Regions from separate parts of the Homo sapiens genome. Here regions 1 and 3 are each linked to region 2. The links are contacts of gene promoters, found by promoter capture Hi-C in blood cells and fetal thymus (Javierre and others, 2016). All regions are on one chromosome and are shown on one strand. Each heading gives the region's core, a stretch centred on a gene start or on the middle of the fragment in contact. The rest is flanking DNA. Distances are from core to core; before and after follow the strand shown. Region 1 overlaps IKZF3 (IKAROS family zinc finger 3). Region 2 holds the start of PSMD3 (proteasome 26S subunit, non-ATPase 3). Region 3 overlaps CASC3 (CASC3 exon junction complex subunit).

What was found. Contacts are between HindIII fragments. The CHiCAGO score rates a contact against its expected background, and 5 or more counts as called.
Region 1: a fragment that was not itself captured here is called in contact with the fragment with the promoter of PSMD3 in region 2 in 6 of 17 cell types (naive CD4 T cells, total B cells, total CD4 T cells and 3 more); the score reaches 6.4 in naive CD4 T cells.
Region 3: a contact is called between a fragment that was not itself captured here and the fragment with the promoter of PSMD3 in region 2, in 1 of 17 cell types (neutrophils). The highest score is 6.1, in neutrophils.

Annotation. Positions count from the first base shown.
Region 1 is chr17:39,776,781-39,780,920 of GRCh38, forward strand. IKZF3 (IKAROS family zinc finger 3) reads right to left here. Exons shown (of 8, transcript NM_012481.5): 7 at 871-987. Among named protein-coding and RNA genes, the nearest start is that of GRB7, 41 kb to the left of the region's middle. RefSeq lists a silencer at 1,601-1,834. The HindIII fragment of the contact is 4,957 bases long and covers 1-4,140 here.
Region 2 is chr17:39,978,166-39,982,633 of GRCh38, forward strand. It overlaps PSMD3 (proteasome 26S subunit, non-ATPase 3), which reads left to right and starts at 2,642. Exons shown (of 12, transcript NM_002809.4): 1 at 2,642-3,025. The coding sequence starts at 2,806. RefSeq lists enhancers at 452-1,651, 2,073-2,252, 2,473-2,752, 2,553-3,530 and a silencer at 2,933-2,982. The HindIII fragment of the contact is 5,666 bases long and covers 985-4,468 here.
Region 3 is chr17:40,158,326-40,162,623 of GRCh38, forward strand. It overlaps CASC3 (CASC3 exon junction complex subunit), which reads left to right. Exons shown (of 14, transcript NM_007359.5): 4 at 3,428-3,586; 5 at 3,677-3,828. It overlaps MIR6866 (microRNA 6866), which reads left to right and starts at 3,608; the gene lies at 3,608-3,676. The HindIII fragment of the contact is 7,918 bases long and covers 1-4,298 here.

The DNA of each region.
Region 1 (4,140 bases), core at 755-3,254, 200 kb before region 2:
GAAATAAAAAATCAACAGCGGCAAGCAGCTTTGGAAAAAGAGGCTGAGACAGGTTTCTAAAATATTACTGATGTTGAGGGAGGTCTATTTTCATGTGATAACTATTTTTGTTCAATATCACCAACTTTCAATTTATAGCAAAACTGATACATTCAATTTCAGCTGTCTACTTCACAAATACAAATCTATTTCAAATATCATGGTCACATTTATGTAAACATCTGGGAGAGTTCAGCAAAATGTCTCTGCCATTTGGAAGTCCTAACACTTCAATGAACATAATTATTTCATACCCATCTCATTCTGCTGTATTTTTTGACAATGTGAAAACCAATGGCATAAAAATGAACTCCAGTAAGACAAATGATTAAATCAAACCTTGTTATTTAAATCTATGTTTGCCCAACCACTTTCCCTTAAAGCCAATTCTCAAATTCAAGAAAATATGGCAATATGTTTTAGAGCATGAAAAAAGTTTGAGCATGCTAACGAACCAACTTGTAAAATATAATTACAAAAGATTACAAAAATGCTATCTTGAACATCTTACTGGTATAAATTGCATAAACTCTCTCATGCAACATATGTCATTCAGAGTAAAGAGGAAGGAACAGGATTTTAAACATCACATCCATTTAGGAAATTGGATATCAACTACTCCCATCTCCTGTCATGATGATGCTTTAGTTAATATCTTTTATTCTATTTTCCAGAGCTATCAGAATGAACCATGAAGAATAAAAGTACACAATGAAAAACTAATTATTTTAACAGAGGTTAAGCTAGGAAAGGCCTTGTGTAGCAAGCATCCTATGTTATTTCATTCAAACTATCTGCTAACAACAGCAGGAAAAAGGTTTGTATTCTTACCAATGAATTTCTGAGGCATTGAGCTTTTTCGTTTTGCCACATTGCTTGCTAATCTGTCCAGTACGAGAGCTCTTTCACTTCCCATCTCTGCTTTGATGTGTCTTGCCTCCGCACTTGCTAGTTTGGAAAAATGTAAAAAGAAGAGAGAAAAGAACACATTGGTACATGGGGAGAAAAGGAAATAAACTGGAAGGAGAAGTGTCCGAAGTTGGATGCACACTCTATTGTTGTTACCTGTTATAACTGCTCAGATTCTTGCCTGGGGTACCTGCTGTGGTCAGTGAAGCCGACACCAGGGCACATTCAAATCTTGCAGTCTTATGCCGAGATGGGAAAGCTCGACCCATCCCCAACCAGTACCTTCATTAGCAAGAGGAAGTATTAAATAAACAGCCTGGACGTGGTTGGTTGCAAAAAGATAGATAGATGGAGATCTAACCCCCGATCAGCCTTCTTTCTGATTCTGAGTAACTGCGTGTGACACCTGCAGACTGATATAATTCTTAACAACTTTGAAAAAAAAGCATGGTGCCCCAGATTTACTGCTCTGTTTATGTTAACAGCACTTTTGAAAATAGGTACACTCACACAGATAGCAAGACATCTACTCAGTGATTTGTGTATTGAAATTCTGAGTGGTTTCTTTCTTTTTCTTTTTCTTTTTTTTTTTCAGCACGCTCCTCTCAGTTCCTATCTTTCATATTCTGTTTCTCTGTGCTCTGTATTATCTGTTTCATATGCTCTTCACATTTCAAAATAGTCTCAATTAAAATTTCCCTAAGCAACACTTCTGCCTTGAAATTAAAGAACAATTTGTATAATGCATCTGTATTGAATTTCTAATAAAAATGTGAATAAAAACTGCCTATGGGCTGGGTGCGGTGGCTCATGCCTGTAATCCCAGCACTTTGGGAGGTGGAGGTGGGCAGATCACCTGAGGTCGGAGTTCGAGACCAGCCTGACCAACTTGGAGAAACCCTGTCTCTACTAAAAATACAAAATTAGCCTGGTGTGATGGTGCATGCCTGTAATCCCAGCTACTCGGGAGGCTGAGGCAGGAGAATCACTTGAACCTGGGAGGCAGAGGTTGCAGTGAGCCGAGATGGCGCCATTGCACTCCTGCCTGGGCAACAAGGGCAAAATTCCGTCTCAAAAAACAAAGAAACAAACAAAACACAAAAAAACCTGCCTATGAATGTGGGCCCATCCACAAATAGACCTGTGAGTGGTGTAGGCCTGTGGTTCTCAGACCTGGCTGCACATTAGACTCACCTGAATAGCAGGTAAGAAATACCTATGCCCAGGCCCCCCTTCAGATCAATTAAATCAGGATTTCTGGTATAGGGGCCTAGGCAAGAATATTTTCAAAGCTCCCCAGATGATTTTAAAATGCAGCCAGAATTGAGAACTACTAGAAGAGTATATAAATAGTGGCAATATCTAATCAACTAAAATAGTAAACTGTAATGAATATAATTTACCTCAATTCAGCAGGCAGTGCCCAAATTTATGTCTAAAGTTCAAAGAAGGCCAGGCACGGTGGCTCACGTCTATAATCCCAGCACTTTGCAAGGCCGAGGCGGGCAGATCACCTGAGGTCGGGAGTTCAAGACCAGCCTGACCAACATGGAGAAACCCCATCTCTACTAAAAATATAAATAATTAGCTGGGTGTGGTGGCGAATGCCTGTAATCTTAGCTCTCGGGAGGCTGAGGCCGGAGAATCGCTTGAACCCAGGAGGCAGAGGTTGTGGTGAGCCGAGATTGAGCCATTGCACTCCAGCCTGGGCAATAAGAGCAAAACTCCATCTCCAAAAAATAAATAAATTAATTAAATAAATTTCAAAGAGATACCAGCTTCTCTAAATACAAGGCTTGACATTTTAACACATGATGCTAGCCTGAACCAGGGATCAGCAAACTTTTGTCTGTAAAGGGCCAGACAGTAAATTTTAAAAATTTGCCAGACACATATAGTCTCTATGTTATATTCTTTGTTTTTTGTTTTTTTTTTTTCTGTTCCACGGCCTTTTAAAAACGTAAAAATCCCTGTACACAAACAGGCCACTGGCTGCACTTGCCTAGAGCGCCACAGTTTGCCCTCACCTGCCCTGGGCAAACATATTGTGATGCTGTAAACATTTTTCTCTGTTTTCTCATAAACACTTCGGGAGATCCAAACTAAAATGAACTATCCATACATTTCTATTATGTCTAAGGAAGAATAAATTGAAATTAGTTTAAGGGATTAGAGTAAAAAGCAAGTAGTGGCTGGCACAGTGGCTCACCCCTGTAATCCCAGTGCTTTGGGAGACTGAGGCAGGAAGATTGCTTGAGGCCAGGAGTTGAGACCAACCTGGGCAATATAGCAAGATCCTGTTCCTACAAAAAGTAATTTTAAAAAATTAGCTGGGCATGTTGGCATGCGCCTGTAGTCCTAGCTACTTGGGAGACTGAGGTGGGAGGGTTCCTTGAGCCCAGGGGTTTGAGGTTACGGTGAACTATTAAGGTAACTGCAAAGACCACAATTACTTTTGCACCAACCTATTAGTGCCAGTGCACTCCAGCCTGCGTGACAGAGTGAGACTCTGTCTAAAAAAAAAAAAAAAAGCCCCAAAGTATTAAATATTTCTAATTTTATTAGTGGCCTTAAAAAACTGTATGTTAGTCATTACACAATACATTATAAAGCTCAGTTTTCATTATTTAGTTAATTTATTTACTTATTTTTGAAACAGGGTCTCAACTCTGTTACCCAGGGTGGAGTGCAGTGGCATGATCACAGCTCACTGCAGGCTCAACCTCCTGGGCTCAAGTAATCCTTCTACCTCAGGTTCCAAAGTTGCTGGGACTACAGTCTAAAGCCACCATGCCTGGCTAATTAAAAAAAAAAATTATTAGTCTCAATATATTGCTCAGTCTGGTCTCCAACTCTTGGCCTCAGGCAGTCCTCCCACTTCAGCCTCCCAAAGTGTTGGGATTACAGGCATGAGCCACTGCACTCAGCCAAAGCTCAGCTTTTTTTTTTTTCCTGGAATAACATAAAATCTGGCTCTGCCAGGTGTGGTGGCACTAGCCCATAGTCCCAGCTACTCAGGAGGCTGAGGTGAGAGGATGGCTTGAGCCTAGGAGTTCAAGTTCAGCTTGGGCAACACAGTGAGATCCCATCTCTTAAAAAGAAAAAGAAATCCAGCTCCAAAAATGAAAAAGAAGAGGATGATAATAATGTGATAATAATGACAATATTTACTAGACAGTGAGTTTCTTGTCA
Region 2 (4,468 bases), core at 1,392-3,891:
CAAGAATAAGACTAACCCAAAACTTTAAAAACTAAATTGTGATATTATTTCACCTTTCTCTGTTCTGCCCTGAAATTTAGGGTTCTTGTAGGAGGAAGTAGTGTGGGTAGGCTTGGCATATTACTACTAATATGGATATTACAATCTCATCAAACCGCTGGGTTTATATCATCCTCCTCTGCCTAAAAGCTGGGTTTGAACATCTTTCACCAACCTCTTTTAAAGCAGTATCAGGACCGGACACCGTAGCTCACGCCTGTAATCCCAGCACTTTGGGAGGCTAATGTGGGCAGATCGCTTGAATCCAGGAGTTCAAGACCAGCCTGGGCAACAGGGCGAAACCCTATCTCTACAAAATATACCAAAAATTAGCCAGGCATGGTGGCATGTGTCTGTGGTCCCAGCTACTCGGGAGGCTGAGGTTAGAGGATCACTTGAGCCTGGGAGGCTGAGGCTGCAGTTAGCCAAGATAGCACCACTGCACTCCAGCTTGGGTGATGGAGCGAGATCCTGTCTCAAAAAATAAAAATAATTTTTAAAAAAGTAGTTCTATGAGTGCAGTACATGTCTGTAATCCCAGCACTTTGCAAGGCCGAGGCAGGAGGATCACCTGAGGTCAGGAGTTCAAGACCAGCCTAATCAACATAGTGAAGCCCTGTCTCTACTAAAAATTAAAAAAAAAAAAATTAAAAATTAGCTGGACATGGTGGCTCGCACCTGTAGTCCCAGCTACTCAGGAGAAGGAGGCAGGAGAATCGCTTGAACCCCAGAGGGGGAGGTTGCAGTGAGCCAAGATCACGACACTGTACTCCCTAGCCTGGCCAACAGAACGAGATTCCGTTTAAAAAAAAAAAAAAGTTTTATGAGTGGAAGAATTTCTCTAAGGATTTTGGTCCGTGGAGTCAGACTCTCCCCCAGTGTCTTAGTCACCCCCTGCCCAGCCTGGTTCCCTCATCCACCAAGAATTCATGACCAACTGCCAGAAGCTTTGTGTTATGCCGCCAGCCTCCCTGATCCTGAGCACCTTCCAAAGCCTCACTCTATTGCTCATGGATATACTGGGTTGTTATCTGCTGACTTGGTTGTTTTCTCCTTGTGATGTAAACTTAATAGAGAGATGAGCTAACACCCTAACTATCTAGAAGAGTAACTCCTTTGATTGTTAAGGATGAACATAACTCATCTGTTTTCTTCCTTACCATTCTCGCCCACCTTCAGTTGCAGATATGGTGTTATGAAGAGGTTCTAATGAGTTTATTCCAATGATGATTCAAAAGTCCTGTTATCCACCCCCCAGCCCTGGAGGGTGAGAGGACAGTTGAGGAGGAACTGGTCAAGGCATGTTCCCTAAAACTAGAGCACATATCTTTCCAGTTAGCGAGTGGCTGTTTAACGCAAGGAACATCCTGCAATCCTATGAAAGAGGATGCAAAAGATATGCAGGATACCCTTTATATATGCAAAGGAGGAGGTCAAAACATATTTCCTGCCTTCTAGGTCCTTACAACAGGGCTAGATTGTCTTGTAGGGTCCGTGAAAGGTCTAAAACTCAGGACTTCCACTTATGGGAGAGAGAAAAGTTTCAAGGTAGGGAGAGAGTTTTTGTTGTGTGTTCTAAGAAATTGGGAGCTATATCCTTCACCTTGTTTCACCTTCCCTGCAGAACCAGTGGGGCAGTCCTTTGAAAAATAAGTGGGTAGGGTTTCTTGTCCAATTTGCTTCCCCTTAGGTACACCACTAAGTAAACCATCATTCTCTCCTTAGGCACACCATTATTCTGTTCCCCATTTCACAATGTCTGTCTGGATGTATAAAAGCCCTCTCAATGGGCTCCCTAAAGCGTCTGCCAGTAGGGGCTCCCACCCTCTTTCCTCAACACTCCCAATCCACCGCAGCCCAGAGCACAGTGTCTGCTTATCTAACCATCTGACTCCCCCGTATACTACATTCTTGAGCTGTTTTTCACCCCCCTATTTGCTAACCGTGGGCCGTACATAGGGTGGACCCCTATATTTTGTTAAACTGGAGTGATTCTACGCAAATGCACGCTCCTACCTATCGGCACTCCCAGCCTGCAGAAATTGTATGCCTTATGTTCAGCACTAAACTCAAATCTAACCAAGGAAGTCCGGATCCCATAGGGTTCTTCCTACTCTCCAGTTCGGTTTATTTTAAGGCCAACAGCCCTAGCTTCACGTCCCTCCTTCACAGCCTTCTTTCCTTCCCTCCTGCCGGATGCGCCCGGCAGCCGTTGAGCACAAGCCCAGCGGATCTGGAAGGAGACCCCGCCGCGACCGGGGAAAATTGAGCGAACTTGGGCGCAAAACCCGCCCGGCAACTCGTGACGTCATCTCGTCCCGCGCTCGGATAGGCTGTACCCACTCCACGCTGGTTGAGGCGCTCTTAAAGTCCTTTGTAACCCAGATTGGAGCCTGAGGGGACCTCTCGTGGACGCCCACAGAAATGCACTCGAGAGGAACATAAAAGCATCACACTTAAGCGCTCGAAAGAAAGCCCCACGAACCCATAAAGGCTCCTCCCCGCTCCTTCCTCGAAGCTCCTCCTTCATCCTGCACCTCGGCTGTGGATTTATTTCCCCTTTGTTGACTCGGCCATCGGCCTGCCGGGCCTGGCGTTTCCCAGAAGGCCCAGCGCCGGGAAGGGGTTTGCAGCTGCTCCGTCATCGTGCGGCCCGACGCTATCTCGCGCTCGTGTGCAGGCCCGGCTCGGCTCCTGGTCCCCGGTGCGAGGGTTAACGCGAGGCCCCGGCCTCGGTCCCCGGACTAGGCCGTGACCCCGGGTGCCATGAAGCAGGAGGGCTCGGCGCGGCGCCGCGGCGCGGACAAGGCGAAACCGCCGCCCGGCGGAGGAGAACAAGAACCCCCACCGCCGCCGGCCCCCCAGGATGTGGAGATGAAAGAGGAGGCAGCGACGGGTGGCGGGTCGACGGGGGAGGCAGACGGCAAGACGGCGGCGGCAGCGGCTGAGCACTCCCAGCGAGAGCTGGACACAGTCACCTTGGAGGGTACGGCAGCCCAGGCCGGGAACGTGCCGCGATCGCGGGTGACAGCGACCCCTGTGATTTGGCTTCTTGCTGGGAAGCCACAGCAGCCTCCACCACCCTCAGTTCTTTGGGATCACCCCCAGATACCTGCTCCCACTGCCCCGACACTCCCGACTCCAGGCCCAATGACTGAACCTTCTCTCCAGGCTGGGAACCACTCCCCTCCCATCCCCTCCATCCCCATATCTGGGGTTGCATCTATATCTAGGTCCCAGTGGGCCTGGGGACTCCCTCTTTTAAGTCCTCCCCTCTGACCTATTCCGTTTATATCCCACCCGACTGATTTTAGCGCCTCCAATATATGACTGATTGTTCCCGCTGGAAACCAGTGTTTGTGTCTGTGTGTAAACAGGGCCAGGATGACCTAGAATATTGACTCCTGAGTTTTAAAACTGTACAGCAGATTTTTGTTGTCCTAGCTGCCTTTAGCACACTCCCCCGAATGAACCATTTCGACCTAGTATCTTGTTTCCTACTTCTCTAACTGAAGTGTCCCAACAGTCCCCTTGCTGTCTCCTCCCTTCAGGTCCTTACTGCCCCTCTGTTTCTAAAGGGTTTAAGTACATACACACTTAAAACTTTTCGGGTGTCATCTTTGTTTGGTTTTGTAATACTCAACCTTTGGCCTAAACTCCTATATACCGGTGTCTCCTATTTCTTTTCTCCGAGGTTCCTGTTTCGAGTGTCTGTAGTCCTCTTGTTCCTCCAAGTTCATGTTTTACTTTTCCCACTTACAGCGTCCTGTTTCCATTTGAAGTGGGCAAAGTGAGAGCTTCCCACTGTGATCCTGGTGCCATTTTCCTGGTTCTGGATCAAGTGGGACCAGACTACTTACTAGGTTTTCTTTTCACTAAAATGCGTGAGAAACTAGCTCAAAAACATTGAGATAAGCAAAGTTATCCTCCTAGGTGGTGCTTTTGAGGATGTGATGGTGTTGACTACATCAGCTCTTACTGTAAAGTTGAGCAACAGGATCGATATTTAATAGAGATCCTTTTACCTAAAGTAGTGGCAGCAATGTCAAAGGTGCCACTCAGCATTGCCTACTGGGTGTGTTTATTACAGGCACTTCATTTTCTTCTTGTAAAGTAATTCATATTCATTGCAGAAATTGTGGAATGTATGAGAAGTTAAAAGCAGGGGATAAAAAACATGGTTAACATTTTTTCTTGTGAATTTTTGAGCTGTTCTCCTATAATTGAGAGCAAGTTATGTATACAGTTTGTATCAAGGCATAACTAAATATAAATTTTGAATTTTATGTGTTTTCATTAACATTCGTAAACATAATCAGCATTCAATTTATTCCAGAAACATTTATTGAATACCCAATATAATGGTTAAGAGTACAAGTTCTGGAATTAGTTCCCTCATCTGTATAAATACAAGTAATAGTACAGTACT
Region 3 (4,298 bases), core at 417-2,916, 180 kb after region 2:
TCAGTTCAAGTATCAGACCCAGTAGGTGAGTGAGAGACCAGTGTACATACATCTACCAGGTTTCAGATGTAACCCACCAATGAAGACTAGACCACCTTTCCTTGAACCCATTTCTCTGTGTTCTCGTAGGCCTCCCTAGCCATAGCTCTGCCTCCTTAGGTCCAAATCTGGGGAGGACAAGGAGAGGAGAGTAACCCTATTCTAAAGCCAGTTCCCTTATCATGAGCCTTAGCTGCTGCCTTTTCCTACCTAGAACTAGCCACACGTCCATTTCCTGGCCCTTTCTAATGGCCTAATGATCCTTTGTGTGTAGACCCAGCACTTTCTGTGTCATGAACAGTGTTACCCAATCTTGATGTGGTAAAAGAGGGAAGAAGATAGTAAAAAGAGAGAGAGAGCACTTGGACTAATTTTTTTCATTTCTGAAATGTGATGGTTGTACAAGTTGTCCTTTAAGGTTTTTTAGGTCAAATTTTTGTAATTATGTGATTCTGGATATGTTCTGGCTGCAGGAATTTTCTGCTGCAGAAAACCAGTACTCATAGGCATTAAAAAAAGCTACCATTTTCCAGCTTGAGGATAAGTGCATTGGGAAATCATGGAGTCATTATCAAGAGTTTGCACATCTGGTTGGGCGCAGTGGCTCATGCCTGTAATCCTAGCACTTTGGGAGGCTGAGGCAGGAGGTTCGCTTGAGCTCAGAAGTTTCAGACCAGCCTGGGTAATGTGGTGAAACTCTGTCTCTACAAAAAATACAAAAATTAGTTGGGCATAGTGGTGTACATCTGTAGTCCCAGCTACTTGTGGGGGCTGAGGTGGGAGGATTACTTGAGCCCAGGAAGTCAAGGCTATAGTCAGTTGAGATCACACCACTGCACTCCAGCCTGGGCGACAGAGTGAGACCCTGTCTCAAAAAAGAGTTGCATGTCTACTCATTCAGTTCTCATTATCTATAGACTAAAATATACATCTCCCCCCTTATGTACTACTATTTTTGAATATATGTAAATTAATAAAATGTAAACTTAAAGTGTTATTGAATGTATAACAGTTTGTTGTTTTTTGTTTGTTTTTGAGACAGTCTCTGTTGTCCAGGTTGGAGTGCAGTGGTGCGATCTCGGTTCACTGCAACCTCTGCCTCCCAGGTTAAAGTGATTCTCCCGCCTCAGCCTCCTGAGTAGCTGGGACTACAGGCACGCACGCATCAGTTCATTGTGTGTTTTTTTTTTTTTTTTTTTGAGACAGGATCTCTCTCTGTTGCTAAGACTGGAGCGCAGTGGCACAATTATGGCTCACTGCAACCTCTACCTCCTGGGCTGAAATGATCTCACACCTCAGCCTCCCAAGTTGCTGGGACTATAGGCGCACACCACCATTCCTGGCGAATTTTTTTTTTTTTTTTTTTTTTTTTGACAGGGTCTCACTCTTTTGCCCAGACTAGTATCAGTGGTGCAATCTTGGCTCACTGCAACCTCCACCTCCTGGGTTTAAGCAATTCTCTTGCCTCAGCCTCCCAAATAGCTGGGATTACAAATTCATGCCACCATGTCTGGCTGATTTTTGTATTTTTAGTAGAGACAGGGTTTCACCATGTTGGCCAGGCTGGTCTCAAACTCCGGACCTCAAGTGATCCACCTACCTCGGCCTCCCAGAGTGTTGGGATTACAGGCGTGAACCACTACATCCAGCCTAGCAGTTGTTTGTCATTGTATGTTTTCTCAGTGAATATCTCATGGGGATCCATGAAAATTTTTAGATCCTAAAAAGGGGTCCGCATAATCAAAAAGGTTGGGAATTTCTGCTCTAAGCCATTTTGAGATGGGAGAGTTCACAACTTACGTCAAAGTATAGTTATTAGGCACTGCATGTTTAAGAGACAATTCATGGGCCAGGTACAGTGTTCATGCCTGTAATCCCAGCCCTTTGGGAGGCCAAGGGAGGAGGATTGCTTGAGCTCAGCAGTTTGAGAACTGCCTAGGCAACATAGCGAGACCTCGTCTCTACTAAAAATAAAAAAAAATCAGCCAGGTGTGGTGGCATGTGCCTGTAGTCGCAGCTACTTGGGAGGCTGAGGTGGGAGGATCACTTGAGCCCAGGAGATTGAGATTGCAGTAAGCCATGATTGTGCCACTGCACTCCTGGGCAACAGAGCAAGACCCTGTCTCAAAACAGAAAAAAAAAAAAAGATAATTCATGGAGAGAGAGATTATCAAGGAAGATTAAGCTCCTCTTATATGTTAGGTATCGTATAGTAAGTCTCCCTTCCATTCTTATCCTCTGGGCCCATTAGAGGCTGCCGCTGTTTTTTTGTTTTTTTGTTTTGCTTTTTCGAGATGGAGTTTTGCTTTTGTCACCCAGGCTGGAGTGCAGTGGCACAAACTTGGCTCACTGCAACCTCCGCCTCCCGGCTAATTTTTGTATTTTTAGTAGAGACAGAGTTTCACCATGTTGGCCAGGCTGGTCTCGAACTCCTGACCTCAAGTGATACGCCTGCCTCGGCCTCCCAAAGTGCTGGGATTACAGGTGTAAGCCACTGCGCCCAGCCTGCCACTTTTAATAATTCTTGCATATGTTCCAGGAATACCTATGTGGATATATATGTATGTATGTGTGTATTTTTTTTAATGTGATATTTTTAAAATAGTGTCTTTTTTTTATTATTACTATTTTTTGCGACAGAGCCTTGCTCTGTCGCCCAGGCTGAAGTGCAGTGGCGCAGTCTCTGCTCACTGCAAGCTCTGCCTCCCTGGTTCAAACGATTTTCCTGCCTCAGCCTCCCGAGCAGCTGGGATTACAGGTGCCTACCACCAAGTGCGGCTAATTCTTATATTTCTAGTAGAGATGGGGTTTTGCCATGCTGGCCAGGTTGGTCTCACACTCCTGACCGCAGGTGATCTGCCTGCATTGGCCTCCCAAAATGTGATTACAGGCGTGAGCCACTGTGCCAGGCCAAAATAGGATCTTTATTTTCTAGAAATATGGGTAAGAATATTGATTTGTTTGCTTTTCAGTTCTATGTTGTACTAAAAATTTATTGATAAATGTATTCCTAAAGAGTAGAAAATTGAAATGCAGCCAGGCACGGTGGCTCACGCCTATAAACCCAGCACTTTGGGCGGCCAAGGCAGGCAGATCACGAAATCAGGAGTTCAAGACCAGCCTGGCCAACATGGTGAAACCTGGTCTCTACTAAACATACAAAAATTAGCCAGGCGCGGTAGTGGGCGCCTATAATCCCAGCTATTTAGGAGGCTGAGGCAGGAGAATTGCTTGACCCCTGGAGGCAGAGGTTACAGTGAGCTGAGATTGTGCCACTGTATTCCAGCCTGGGTGACAGAGACTTTGTTTTGGGGTTGGGGGCAGGGGTGGGAATTAAAATGCACCGTTCAGATCTTATATGCATCGCTGACAGGGAAACTTTTTTCAGGGTGAAGAAGGTGAATACAGTGAAGAGGAAAACTCCAAAGTGGAGCTGAAATCAGAAGCTAATGATGCTGTTAATTCTTCAACAAAAGAAGAGAAGGGAGAAGAAAAGCCTGACACCAAAAGCACTGTGACTGGAGAGAGGCAAAGTGGGGACGGACAGGTTAGTACATTCCACAGTCCTCCATTTTAGAGGCTGGAATAGAGATTCTTGAGGCTTGGAAGAGTAAGGATCCCTTTATCTGTCCTCTAGGAGAGCACAGAGCCTGTGGAGAACAAAGTGGGTAAAAAGGGCCCTAAGCATTTGGATGATGATGAAGATCGGAAGAATCCAGCATACATACCTCGGAAAGGGCTCTTCTTTGAGCATGATCTTCGAGGGCAAACTCAGGAGGAGGAAGTCAGGTAAAAGCCACTTGCTGCTGCTGCTGTCTAACATGTATTTTACACATGTAGGCCAGGTACTTCGATTTGCCTGTATTTCATTTATTACAGCATTTTAAGATAAGTATTATGATTATCCTTATCGTACAAATGAGGAAAGTAGGCTTAGAATATTTGGTAACTCTTGGTGAGGCAGCTAAGATACAGACCTAGGACAGTTTGTTTCCAGAACTCATCTTCTCTTAATTATTATACTTTTGCTTTTCTTAGTCTGAGGTGTAAGGCGTCTGAGAAGTGAAATACTTGCATAGGTTGCCTTTTAGGAGAAAGGAGATGTTTCAAAGGTACTGAATGGCATGAAATGAAGTCTTTTTCTCATTTCTGTGTCTGTTATATTTGAGCCCAGCAGGCCCTGAGGTTCTGTGATTCACGCTTGCTTTGGGGAGGCCTGTTTTTTATAATCTCTTTGGGATGATGAGGAGACTACGTAA